Regions from separate parts of the Homo sapiens genome. Here all the other regions are linked to region 4. Evidence: promoter capture Hi-C in human tissues and cell types (Jung and others, 2019). All regions are on one chromosome and are shown on one strand. The core of a region is centred on a gene start or on the middle of the fragment in contact, and the rest is flanking DNA. Distances in the headings are between cores, read along the strand shown.

Evidence for each region. Contacts are between HindIII fragments. The study calls those that stand out against the background at their distance.
Region 1: a contact is called between a fragment that was not itself captured here and the fragment with the promoter of TTLL11 in region 4, in 1 of the 25 tissues and cell types used here (dorsolateral prefrontal cortex).
Region 2: a fragment that was not itself captured here is called in contact with the fragment with the promoter of TTLL11 in region 4 in 1 of the 25 tissues and cell types used here (pancreas).
Region 3: a contact is called between a fragment that was not itself captured here and the fragment with the promoter of TTLL11 in region 4, in 1 of the 25 tissues and cell types used here (lymphoblastoid cells).

Annotation. Positions count from the first base shown.
Region 1 is chr9:121,737,942-121,741,188 of GRCh38, forward strand. The region is part of intron 3 of DAB2IP (DAB2 interacting protein); the gene reads left to right. Among named protein-coding and RNA genes, the nearest start is that of DAB2IP, 88 kb to the left of the region's middle. RefSeq lists an enhancer at 1-704. The HindIII fragment of the contact is 7,838 bases long and covers 1-3,247 here.
Region 2 is chr9:121,702,824-121,706,258 of GRCh38, forward strand. All of the region lies in intron 3 of DAB2IP (DAB2 interacting protein), which reads left to right. Among named protein-coding and RNA genes, the nearest start is that of DAB2IP, 53 kb to the left of the region's middle. The HindIII fragment of the contact is 7,572 bases long and covers 1-3,435 here.
Region 3 is chr9:122,396,029-122,399,630 of GRCh38, forward strand. No RefSeq gene overlaps it. Among named protein-coding and RNA genes, the nearest start is that of PTGS1, 27 kb to the left of the region's middle. The HindIII fragment of the contact is 3,359 bases long and covers 386-3,602 here.
Region 4 is chr9:122,091,899-122,095,205 of GRCh38, forward strand. TTLL11 (tubulin tyrosine ligase like 11) reads right to left here and starts at 1,410. Exons shown (of 9, transcript NM_001139442.2): 1 at 789-1,410. The coding sequence starts at 1,250. LOC124902263 (a long non-coding RNA gene) reads left to right here and starts at 2,234. Exons shown (of 2, transcript XR_007061757.1): 1 at 2,234-2,274; 2 at 3,276-3,307. RefSeq lists enhancers at 938-1,651, 1,401-1,590 and a silencer at 1,001-1,050. The HindIII fragment of the contact is 16,076 bases long and covers 1-3,307 here.

The DNA.
Region 1 (3,247 bases), core at 466-2,965, 350 kb before region 4:
TGGACATGGGAGGAAGAGTGAAGGTGGGGGCTGGGGTTGCTAAACTGGTTCCTCCTCCAGGGAAGCAAGCCCTGCCCTCCTGGAGCTTCCAACCTGGAGGTGGGGAGGTGGGCTGGGGGGAAGCTTTAGGGCACAGCTCAGAGAAGGCCAAGCAGGCAAGGTTGTGGGGCACCTGGAAGGTGGGTGTCCAGCGGCCTGGCTGCTGACCTAGGCTCAGGGAACCAGCATTTGGTGGGTGAGCTGTGAGGAACGGGCCTTGACCCTAGGCTGCAGGGCTAATGAGGGCCTTTAGCCAGAGGCTCCCAGCACAGGTGAGGGGGAAACTGCCGGTGCCCCTGTGCCCTCGCGCTCTCCCAGCCCTGCCTCTCTGAGACAGATTTAATAATCCATGTCTGTCTCTCTCTCTCTCAGTTAGTATTGCAGGAGGGAAGCTTTACTTCTAAAACTTTTATTGATCCAGACACTAATAAAAGTAAAGGGTTTTTTTTTCTTCTTTCCTGCTAGAGCAAAGAACATCAGACATCAGAGCCCTAAAACACAAATGTGTTTTCCTCCTCCCTAGATCTGGGAGGGAGTTGTGGGTTGGCCTTGTTCAGATCTAGCCTCTTCAAGAAGCCTCCCTAACTTCTCAGGCCTGCAGTCATCCACCTGTTCCAGAGCAGTTAAACGAAACTGCCACATGTGCCTCTGTCTGACCCCAGAAGGCTGGGCTGTCACAGAAGCTTTCCTTCCCACCTGAGGTCCCCAGGGTTAGGGAGAGACGCCATGGGAGGCATTCAAGACCTGGCTCTTGATTTCTTGTGTCTCTCAGGGTTTGGGGTTTGGTTCTTTGGCTGCTCTGGTCTTTGTTTTTGCATCTTGATTTCATCAGGACTTACTGAGCTCTTATACTGTGTCAGACCCTCTCTTAAGACACAGAAATACAACACGTAGAGCTTGGCCACACACAGCTTACCTTGTGATGGGAGAGGCAGATAAGAAATAAGCAGAGAAACAAAGTGATTCTGCTTTGGGAAACATAGTGAAGTTCCCCTACTGAAATGTGAGTCAGGGAATTTCTGTCTGCTTTGTTCAGCACCTGTGTTCCCAGTGCCTAAATAGTGCTTGGCACATAGTTTGCACTTAAATATTTGCTAGCTGCATGAGCAAGATGCTATGAAGGAAACAAGCCAAGTGTTCCACTAGGGAGTAATGGGGGCAGGGCAGGACCTGTTGTAGATGGAGCAGTCAGGGAAGGATTGAGTTGCAGAAGATGCCAGAAGCCTGCCAGTTTGCTGTTAGAGTGTGCTGGAGCAAGAACTCCTAGCCTAGGGAGCAGCAAGTACAAAGTCCTTGAGCAGGAAACAGAGACTTTGGTGTGTGTGGTGGGGGGCGTTGGGTGTTGCTGGATGAGGTCAGAGAGTAGGTAGGTCATGACTGCCAATGTCTTTCACCTGGGTAGCAGTTCAGATTTATTCAGTGCAGTGGGGAGTAATTGAAGGCTTTTAAGGTGAGGAGTTCAGTAATCTGATTTGCATTTCTGAAGGGTCCCTCTGACTCCCCTGGTAGGGGTAAGGGGAAGCCCAGTGGTTGGGGAGGCTGCCCGGACAGCAGGCTGCCTGGGGAAGATGGAGAGGAGTAAACAGGTATGAGGGATTTCAGAGGGGGTAGCAGCAGGATTTGTGTTGGATTGGATTCCAAAGGCCAGGGAAAGGAAGGGCTCCTGGCTTTGCTACTGAGGCTCCACGCTGGACATTTCAGACGTGAAGCTCCGAGAGGTGTCCCAGAGGCGCTGTCAGGCAAGCATGGAGACACATGGGTCCGGAGCTCAGAGGAGGATAGGGCTGGGGATGCACTTAGGAGTCGTGAGCATGCTGGAGGTATTTAGAGCTATGGGAGTGGAAAGAATCACCAAAGGAAAGTGTTGTGCTAAGGAAGTGTCTCCGAAACAGCCCTGAGGAGCTCCAGCACTGGGAGGAAAGGAGGTGAGGTGCTAGCAGCCTGTGAGAACAGAGGAAAGCTGGAGCAGGGTGGCCTGGGTTCACGGGGTAGTAAGGCACAGAAACTGGTTGACTTTGGCAACATGAAGGCCTTTGGTGTCCTCAAGGAGACCCAGTGGGGTCGGAACAGACAGGTGTGTTGAGTAGGAAAAGGAGGTGAGAAGGTGGCGGGGACAGCAGTGAGCAAAGAAGTGCGTGAGGACCCAGCTGGCCCAGGATGTTGAGGAGGGGAGGGCCAGGGAGGGGCCTGAATGTTCTCTGTCCACAGCGTAGGTTTACCAGCAGCAGCTGACCCAGTGGATCTCAGCCTGGAGATTCTGATTCAGGAGCGCCGATAGGCCCCCCACAGTGATCTTTCCCAGCTCTCTGAGCCCTCTCCACCCACTCTCTGGAAGGCTTGCTCACTGTGCCCTGTCACGTTTTTGGACTGAATGCTGAGTCTGTTGACCCTGTGTTCCCCCCGTCAGCCCCTTTCCTTACACCAGTCTCTCTGGGTCCACGGCCCCTAAATAAGAGTATCCTGGAGCCTGGCTTACCTCAAGTGTCTTTCCCAGAGCAGAGCTAGACTTCCTTTACACCAAGGGTATTTCTCTGGAAGGCTCCTTTATGTGTTTGGCTTCTGGAGAAGTTTGAGATGTTTTACACAATATTTTGGTGGCCAGGAGCTCTAACCCTCACCCCCAACAACCCTGCCCCAAGACTTTTTGCTGGCTCTGGGGAGGGTTCAGAATGCATCGGCTTGAGGGTGCAGGGTTGGCATACACAGCTGGAGATAACATAATGTCTGCTAGACGCCTGGTGGGTTTCAGTGTCTGTTGAATGAATGGCACTCAGATATTTGAGTTTGGGGTTCCCAGTTGCTTTGTTAAATGCTTTTCCTGGTTAACCAGTGTTTTTACATCTGTTATCTGCAGGGGATAGTGTATTACCTCATTTTATACATGAGGAAACTGAGACTCAGGAAAGTAAAAGGATTTGTCCAGGGTTCCACAGTTGCTAAATGACACGACCAGAATTGGAGCCTGGGCCTGCAAAACCCCCAAATTGGGCCTCTTCTTACTGACTAATCCTGGGGGTGAGGTAGTAAGGGTGGAGGTTAAGGCACCCAGGTCTCCTACTACCTCTCAAGAATAGTGGCCAGATGTTCTGCCAGGGCTCCAAGGCATTCCTTCTGCCTCCCACCCACCTGTTTCCTCTGATGCTCGACACCCCCTCCTCTCCCCACATGCGCACCAGATGCATTCGGCTCCAGGAAGATAGGATGAGGC
Region 2 (3,435 bases), core at 236-2,735, 390 kb before region 4:
CTGTTTCTGGGTGACTCTAGCCCTCCACACCTGCTGGGAATATGCTTCCTTTGGCATGCTACCTGTCTAAACTTACCACAGTAGTTACTCTAAAGTGTCTGTACCCCCATCAAGCTCTTCCCAGTCATCCTGGTGCGGAGCTTAGCTCATAAATGCAGGCAGCTCTGGGGCAGGTAGGCAAGGCTGCTATGTGTGGAGTTAGGGATCGATTCCCCCTTCCAGAGTATGTGTGTGCTGGCTGGCGTTCCCACACCTGAAAGTTACTAATGGTGGAATTCCAAGTGATAAGGGACTAGGGAAGGAGATACAGTACTTGGATGTTGGGGATGGCAGCTTCCAGGGACCCTCACCTGGACCTGGGTAGGCAGGAATCAATTCTGCCCCTTGTGGTGAGACAGTCCCTGGAGGAGGGAGAGTGAGGAAGGTTGATGAGGAACAGGGGAAATGGAAGTTAGGGTCTATTTTCCTGCTTTAGTTGCTGACAGTAAGTGCAGGCAGGACTGGGCACCCAAGTCTGGTGTTTCTTGCCCTTGTTCCCTCCCCTACTATAGACAGGGAGGGCCTGGTCCTTTTTTTGGGGACTAGTCTGTCTAGTGTGGTGATGTCAAGATGATAGTGCAGTTTAGACAATTGCCAGGAGTCATGGGATGTATGTGATCTTTGGATTTGAAGCCAAGCATTCCTGGGGCAAGTCACGTAACCTTTTGCAGCCTCAGTTTGCTCATCTGCAGAATGGGCATCATGATAATCATGTTGTTGAAGACATTAACATTAATACATTTAGCACACTTTTCATAGAAATTTTCTGGTTCAGTGCTGTTTTCTTAGCATTTAACACTGGGTCTTGCACATTTCTTAAATGTTTCTAAAATTTAATTAAATAATGTGTGAAAGAGGTTAGATTAATATGTCATAGGTTTTCAGTTAATATTGGTAGGGTTAAGTCACCTCGTCTTGGTAAGCCTCAGTTTTCTCATCCACAGTGTGGGAATAATAAGCAATCATGTGGCCTCATCCTGAGGTTCAAGAGATAATAGATGTTGCTGTGCCTGGTAAGGTGATTCGAGCTTAAGATGGGTCATTATTGCCTTAAACTTAAGAAACAGCCATTATTACCTAGAGCACAGGATGTTTTCCTAGGGATTCCTGCTTACACCTGGGAAAGCAAAGCTCTCATGTGTGTTTTAATAATCAGTTTTAAAAGTTCATTGTTCCATCTTCCGTTTGGGTCATACTTGTTTTTAATCATTTAGGCATTTAGGTTATGTCTAGGTTTTCTTTATTAAAAATGACACTGGGATTTAAATCCTTGAATATTTATCTTTGCCTACATTTCTGATTTTTCCCAAAGGATAAAGTCTTAGAAACAGAATTACTAGGTCTAAAAATATGAAGAGTTTGAGATTTTTCTTAGAAAAATGTCACCCACCAAAATCCTGTAATAATTCATACCCCTCCCCAGTGATTTTTGAGAGTGCTTACCTGTTTCCTCACACCCTTCAAAACATTGGATGTCATCATTAAAGCAGTCTTTATCGTTTGGATAGGCAGAAAAAGGGCATTTTTTTGTTATTTGCATTCATTTGCTTGTTGGTGATCGAATAGTGCTTTCCTGAGTTTCATGGCCAGTGGCAGTGCTTCTTTTGAGACTTGTCTATTCCTGTCCTTTGCCTGAGTGTTCTGACAAGCCTCTTGCAGGATTCTTGGTTGCCCTGTTTGGTCTTCCTCAGCTCTGAGAGGTCCCATGTAGGTGGATCCTACACGTTAAATGAGCCTCTGCCTTCCAAGAGGTATGACAAGGAATTCATTAATTACCTGTAAGGAAGGCTCACCTGGCTGTCCTCTCCTCCTCCCCCTCCCTTCTTCTTTCCACCTTCCTCCCGTCCTCTCCTCTCCATAAGGAAATCAGGTTTAATTCCTAATCCTATCATTCATAAGGATGCCCTGTATTTACACAGCACTTTAAGAGGTCTTCTGCCCTGTAGGGTAGGTAGGCAGTGAAAGGGCTGCTCTATGGCCAGGAAAACTGAGGCACACAGTCAAAGGCATGGAGCTGGGGCCTATGCAGAAGCCAGGCATTGGAACCAGATCCCCTCTCAACTGCAGCATTGTACTTGAGCCCCATGGGCACCTTTGGGGGCAGGGCTGACCGGCCCAGGAGCACATGATTCTGAGTCTCATCTCTAGAGAGGAAGGGGAGAGCCACAGAATACGACCTGGACGTATAGAAGAATCAATTTATTTTTTGCTTTCTCATTTTTATTACTCTCCTTTAGATCTGGAGCTCCCTTGTGTACCTTCCCAAGATCTGAGCTGGGCAATGTTTTTAGGAACGGTGGAAATTAGCTAGTGAGAATGGGATCAGCAAGGCTGGGGTTTCAAAGGCTGGAGAAGCCTTTCTTTGCACAAGCATATGTTTGTCTGTGTACGTCTTTTGTATGTGTTGCAAGTGTGCACCTGTCCTCATGAAGATGTGTGTACATTATATGTTAATGTCCTTATACATGTCTGTGCATTTAATTGAGTTAATACAGGTGAAGTATTTGGAACAGTGCCTGGTACATCATATGGGGTGAGACTGTATAAAGTTGCTGTTTTGGGAGGCCAAATACAGGCAATTGCATATGATTCAATCTATGTGTTCAGGTTAAGTGTTGGCTACTATTGTTATTATCGTGTGTTTTCTTCTTGGGTATGCATCTGCCAGTTGTTTGTACATGTCTGTGTACGTATACCCTGTTGTGCCCATGTGTATAGTGTGTTCTGTGAGCACTCACGTGCATACTTGTGTGCATGTGTGCACTTTCTGTCTGGGTGCATGGACACTGAGCTGGCCGGTGTGTGAATAAGCTCCCCACCTTCTTGGGGAGAACTTCCCAGAGAGCAACTCTTTGCCTCCCCTCTCACCTTCGGTTACCAGGCAGAGCCCAGGCCCAGGTGCCAGGCCTGACAGGTGCCATGGGACTGCTTTCATTCTCCTCCAGGTAGCCCTGCCTATTTCCAGGCCCCATATTAGAATATGCAAATCGACTCTTTAATGGAATTCCTTTGCAAAATATTACTTGAACCAGTAAGTTAATTACCAGGCTCTAATTAATGGCTATTTTAGAAGGCCACAGAACAAAACTGGAGGAGATCATAAGAGACCAAAAAGGCAAGAGGGAAAAGCATCCAGCTCCCCCAGTCGGCTTGGTGACTCCTTCCAGGGTGGCAGGGTGTGCTTAGCTTCTCTCTGCTCTGAGCTGCCAGTCCGCTCCCTTGTGATGATTGGCTGTAGGTGAGTGAATGCTCCCCTTGCACGAAGAACCTCTGGTGGTTCTAGTCTCTTGGCCATCAGTGCATCCATCTGCGAGGTGTGTCCAGGGCAGCATCTGCCTGGGGATGGGGTGAGAATGTGTGGATAGCAAGCCTGGGCTGAGGTGGGGCTGCACCAAC
Region 3 (3,602 bases), core at 815-3,314, 300 kb after region 4:
TACACACAGAACTGAATATATATATATATATATACACACACACGACTGAATATATATATATATATATATATATATACACACAGGACTGAATATATATATATATATACACAGGACTGAATATATATATATATATACAAGACTGAATATATATATACATATACAAGACTATATATATATATTCAAGACTGACTATATATATATTCAAGGCTGACTATATATATTCAAGACTGACTATATATATATTCAAGACTGACTATATATATATATTCAAGACTGACTCTCTCTCTATATATTCAAGACTGAATATATATATATATATATATTTCTATCTCTCTAATAATACAAGAACAGAAAACCAAATACTGCATGTTCTCACTTATGCGTGGGAGATGAATGATGAGAATACGTGGACATATGGTGGGGAACAACACATGCTGAGGCCTGTCGGAGGGTGGGAGGTGGGCCATCAGGAAGAATAGCTAATGTTAATACCTAGCTGATGGGATGATCTGTGCAGCAAACTACCATGGCACACGTTTACCTGTGTAACAAACCTGCACATCCTACACGTGTAACCAATATATGTATATTATTATTCAAGTTCCAATAATCAAATAATACACAAACCACTGTATTATTTGATTATTGGAAATCAAATAATAATAATAATAATAATAATAATAATAATATACATATATTCTGTTGGTTCTAATTCTCTGGAGAACCCCGACTAATACAATGGGTGATTCATTCAGGACTCTCAATGCAAACAACAGAACATTCTCTAGCCTGTATAAGCAGGAAGGAATTTATTATAGGACATTACATAGCTCATGGAGCCACTGGGAGGACCAGGGAATTAGGCTTGGAGGGTTTGCACCTAGGAATGGTGGCCACTGTCCAGTGGAGATGCCTCTACTACTGCCATGGACACAGCATCTCAAATGACACCTTTGCTGCCCAAACCCCACTACTGCTGCCTTCCAAAACAGGCTGCTTCTACAGCCACTTTTGCTGGAAAATGGAATCTGTGTGATACTTGCTTCCTCTCTTTTCTCTACTTAGAATTAAAATTATCTTTATTTTGTGTCGGATTGGTGGAGCCCAGCTCATGTGTCTGTACTGCAGCTACAAGAAAGAATGGAAAGTGAGTTTTCTGGTTTGTGCCTTGAAAAGGAGGAACCCATGATAAGGAAAATTCCTCATACATAGGGAAGGTGTTCAAAGGGGCTGGGAAACGTGGAAAGTCTGCTTCAGTGAATCTGAATTTTCTTAGTTCTGTTCTGCCTCTGTGGGCCCTATCCCTAGAATGTTACAAAGACCATCACAATGGCCTTACTGTTGACCTGGTAGCAGCTCGATATAGTTGCAAGCAAAGAGCTTAAGAAGTGAAGTTATGTAATTATAGAACAACAGAGAAACAAAGACTGTTGGGTACACACAGTCCACTCTTTTAGTAATTTTTGAGTTAAAAAAAGTGTCAGAAACGCAGGAGGCAGAGCAAGAAGGCAGAATAGAAGCTTCTACCAATTGTCTTCCCCACAGGAACACCAAATTTAACAACTGTCTACACAAAAAATGCACCTTCATTAGAACCAAAATTCAAGTGAATGATTGTAGTACCTGGTTTTAACTTTATATTACTGAAAGAGGCACTGAGGAGGGTAGGAAGGATGGTCTTGAATTGCCAGAGCCATCCCTCCCCGATCCCTGGCAGCAGCCACATGGCACAGAGAATCTGTGTAGGGAGAGTGTAGTGGTTGTAGGACTTTGTGTTAGAACTCAGTGTTGCCTTGTTACACTGGAAAGCAACACCAGGCAGAACTCAGCTAATACCCATGAGGGAGAATTTAGATCAGCCCTAGCCAGAGGGGAAGCATCCATCCCAGTTGCTGAATGGGCTAAAGGGCTCTGGGGTTCTAAATAAACTTGAAAGGCAGTATAGGCCACAAGGATTACAACTCCTAGGAAAGTCTGATCTGCGCTTGGAGCCAGTGGACTTGAGGGGCATGTGACCTGCTGCGATAGCCAAGGGAGTGCTTGTGCCACCCCTCTCCCAACCCTAGGCAGTGCAACTCACAGCTCTCAAAGAGACTCCTTCCTTCAGCTTGAGGAGAGAAGAGTAAAGAGGACTTGTCTTGCCACTTGGATACCAGCTCAGCCACAGTAGTTTAGGGCACCGGGCAGAGTCCTGAGGCACCCATTCCAGGACCTAACTTCCAGATGACATTTCTAGACATATCCTGGGCTTATATGGGCCATATAAGGCAGAAGGGAACCTGTTGCCTTGAATGAAAGGATCTAGTCCTGATAGTATTCACCACCTGCTGACTAAAGTGCCCTTGGGCCCTGAATAATCAGCAGCAGTAGCCAGGTAGTACACACTATGGCCCTTGAGTGAGATTCTGAGATGTGCTGACTTCAGGTGTGACCCAGCACATTCCCAGCTGTGGTGGCTATGGGGAGAGACTCCTTCTACTTGAGAAAAGCAGGGGGAAAAGTAAAGGGGATTTCATCTTGCAGCTTAGGTACTAGCTCGGCCACAGTGGGGCAGAGCACCAAGTGGGCTCTCAGTATCCCTGATTCCAGGCCTTGGCTCTCGCACAGCATTTCTGGACCTGACCTGGGCCAGAGGGGAGACCACTGCCCTGATACGTGAGTCCTAGGTCTGGCAGCATTCACCACAAGCTTCCTGAAGAGCTCTTGGCCTTGTGTGAACATTGGTGGTAGCCAGGCAGTACTCCCCATGGGCCTGTGGTGGTGCTGGCCATGGGGAGAGACTCCTCTGCCTGTGGGAAGGGGAGGGATGAGTGGGAAAGACTTGACTTGTAGCTTTGTCTGCAGCTCAGCTGCAGTAGAATAGAACACAAGGCAGATTCTTAAGATTTTCAACTCCAGGCTCTGGTCCCCAAACAGCATCTACGGACCTGCTTGGGGGAACTCGCTGCCCTGAAGGGAAGGACACAAGCTTGGCTGACTTACTGCCTGCTAACTGCAAAGCCCTAAAGCCTTGAGTAAACAAAGGTGGTGGTAGCCAGGTAGTGGTTATAATGGGCCTTGGGTAAGAAACAGTGCTGTGCTGGCTTCAGGTCTGACCTAGTGCAGTCCCAGTGGTGGTGGCCACAGGGGTGCTTGTGCCACCCCTCCCCCAGTTGTAGGCAGCTCAGCACAGAGACAGAGAGACTCTGTCTGTTTGGGAGAAAGTAAGGGAAGAGAACAAGAATATCTGCCTGGTAATCCAGACAATTCTTCCAGATCTTATCCAAGACCATCAAGTGGTACCTCTACAAGTCTGCAAGAGCCACAGCATTACTGGGCTTGGGGTGCCTCCTAATGCTGATATGACTATGGTGACCAAAAACTTAGATGACAACACCCAAGTCCCTTCGAATACCTGGAAAGCCTTCCCAAGAAGGCTTTCCCAAGAAGCCCAGACTGCAAAGACTACCACAAATATCTAACTTTTCAATGTCCAGACACCAGTGAACATCCACAAGCATCAATACCACTCAAGAAAACATGACCTTACTAAACAAACTAAATAAGTCATCAGGGATTTATCCTAGAGAGATAGAAATATGTGATCTTTCTCTATCTCTCAG
Region 4 (3,307 bases), core at 160-2,659:
TATTCATTCACCCTTTCATTCACTGCTTACTGACACATGCCGTAAGCCAAGCCTGGAATATAAAATACAGTGCCTGATTTTATACCACTGATCATGAGGACAGTGGTGGTGCTGGTGGTGGTGATGGTGATGATGGTGGAAGAAGAGAGAAAGGAGAAGGTGGTAACGTAAGTTACCATTTATTGCAGACTTGTGCTATAAAACACTAAGTAGTGAGTCTTCTAATGCTAACAAGATGATGAGATAAGTATAATTGGCCTCACTTTACAGAGAAGGTAATAGGCTGAAGAGGTGAAGCAACTTACTCAAGGTCACACAGCTAAGTAGCAAAGTGTAGTGAGACCCTAGGCCTGTCTGCCTCCAAAATAAAAAGTGTTCCTCTGCCCAAGAGTCACACAGCAAGTGCTAAACAAATATAACTTCAATGAAGAAGTGAGAGAGCGGGTCCGGGGCCCCAGGGGCTTACAAGCTGGTGGAGGAGACAGACGTACACATATCTACAAGCAGAGGCAAATGCTGATGGCTGAGACATAAAAAGAGCTGCAGGGAGGCAGAGGAGTGAGTGGCTAACTTGACCTGGAGGGGTCTGGGGGGCCCTCTTGGAGGAAGTGATTTTGGGGGGTAGGCCTTGAAGGATGAGCACTTTGCGGCTGACAAGCAGGCCCGAGCGTGGTGCACCGCAGGAGCTCAGCCCTCGCCCGCCGACCTGACCTGGGCCGTGCCGAGACCTCTGAGGTCGTCCTGTCCACCCCACTGTGCCCACGCGGCCGGGTCGGGCCGGGCCTCACCTCCTTCCACTTGAGCTGGCGGATGCTGATCTTCAGGGCATCCAGGGAGGTCCTGGCCTTGGAGCTGTCCACGGTGACCGGCCGCTGGGAGCCGTTCTCGCCGGAACCGTGGCCCGAGCTCCGCTTGCAGCTTCGGCCCTTGTCCCGGGGCTTCCCGTGCGGGCAGAGGCCCTGCACCGGCTTCGGCTTGGACGGGGGCAGCGTGGGCGGCGGCCGCTGAAGGACCTGGGTGTTCCCCTCCTCAGCCGCACTGGGCTGCGCCGGGGCCGGGGCCAGGACCTTGGGCTGCTCCTCCCCTGCCTTGCACTCCGGTTCCCCGGCCGCGCCCGCGTCCACGCGGACCTGTTCCGCCACCGTCTCCGCTGTGGCCTCGGCCTCAGCTTTGGCCGCCGCTTTGGCCGCAGCCACCGCCTCCGCCTCCCACCGGGCCGCCAGCTCGCTCTCGGAGCTGCCCCGCCGCATGGTGCTCAGGGCCGGGGCCAGTGCCAGTGCCACCGCCGCCGCCGCCGCCGCTCCGCCGCCCCAGTCCGCCACCAAACTGCCGCCGCTGCAGCCGCTGCCACGCGTTCCCCGCCCGAGCCCGTTGCCATGATCGCTCAGGCTCGGGTTGACAGCGGCAGTCACCGCATCGAGACGGGGTCCGGGAAGGGACAATCGCCGGCCGAGCCCCAGCGACCTCATAGGCGAGGCTGCCCACGTGACCCTGCCTGTCACAGAGGCAGCGGCGGCCATGTTGGAAGAGGGCAAAGAGCCGCCAGGACCCGCCCACCCCGCGGATGCGCTGGATCTCGAGGGCGCAGAACTCGGAGTGGCGAGGAGAAGCGGGAGGGCAGATTGAGCGCGCGTGGGGCTCGTGAGCCTGGGGACTGGGAGTAAAAACAACTACCTCAAGCAGGAGGCTCAGTCCCCGCCAACACTCGCTGGGATAACTCTCGATAGGACGGAGGAGGAGCCCCCCAGTGGGACCCTCCTCAGTGCAATGGATGGGACCCTCCTCAGTGCAATGGATGGGACCCTCCTCAGTGCGATGGATGTGAGCAGCCCAGGCCCTAGGGGAGCAGAGAGTGTTCCGCTGAAGAAACCCTCTGCTGGTCCTTTGAGCGCCCCCAGATAAGAGGGGAGGCACTTTTCCCTGTTCTCAGGGAGCTCCCGATGGGATGGGGAAGTCATGGGCATGGGTAAGCCCCCTATAGATTCCCACTCGAGTTGAGGATATTAACGATTTTTTCTTTTTCTTTTCTTTTTTTCTTTTTTTTTTTTTTTTTTAGACAGGGTCTCTCTCTGTCGCCCAGGCTGGAGTGCAGTGGCGCGATCCCGGCTCACTGCAGCAGCCTCAACTTCCAGAGCTCAAGGGATCCTCCCACCCCAACCTCCCGAGTAGCTGAGACTACACGAATGTACCACCACTCCCGGCTAAGTTTTGTGTTTCTCGTAGAAACGTGGTTTCGCCATGTTGCCGAGGCTGTTCTCAAACTCCTGACCTCAGGTAATCTGCCAGCCTCGGCCTCCCAAAGTACTAGGATTACAAGCAGAACCACCGCGTCTCTTGTTTTCTTTTTTGTTTTTGTTTTTGTTTTGTTGTTGTTGTTGATGTTGTTACAGAGTTTCGCTCTTGTCGCCCAGGCTGGGATGCAATGGTGTGATCTCGGCTCATTGCAGCCTCCGCCTCCCGGCTTCAAGCAATTCTCCTGCCTCAGCCTTGTGAGTAGCTGGGATTGCAGGAGCCGGCCACCATGCCCGGCTAATTTTTTGTATTTTTAGTATAGACGGGGTTTCACCATCTTGGCCAGGCTGGTCTCTAACTCCCGACCTCAGATGATCCACCCGCCTCAGCCTCCCAAAGTGCTGAGATTACAAGCGTGAGCCACCACGTCCAGCCTGACTGCTTTTACTTATATCACTTTTTTTGTTGTGGTAAAATATAACAAAATTTGCCATTTTAACCATTTTTAGTGTACAATTCAGTGGCATTCTGTATACTCACATTGTTGTGCAACCAGCACCACTATGGGTCTCCGGAACTCTTTTATCTTACCAAACTGAAACTTTGTGTCTATGAAACAATAAGTCGGGATTCCCTTCTCTCCTAGTCCCTGGGAACCACCATTTCTACTTTCTGACTATGAATTTGACTATTCCTGGTTCCTCATGTCAGTGGAATCATACAGTATTTGTCTGGCTTATTTCACGTAGCATAATGTCCTCAAGGTTTCTCCATGTTGTAGCATGAGTCCAAATTTCACTCATTTTTAAGACTGAAAAATATTTCGTCGTGTGCATACACCACCTCGTTTTTATCCATTCATCTGTCAATGGACTTAGGTTGTTTCCACCTTTTGGCTATTGTGAAGAATGTCGGTTAACATTGGTATACAAATACCTGTTTGAGCCCCTGCTTTCCATTTTTGGGAGTTGCCATCATTTTAAAGCCAAACCAAGGAGAAAGCTCTCCCCTCCCACCTGAGGGAGCCGCATTTGTTTTTTTAGGAAGTGGGGTTGAGAAGGTGTAACAGCACCCC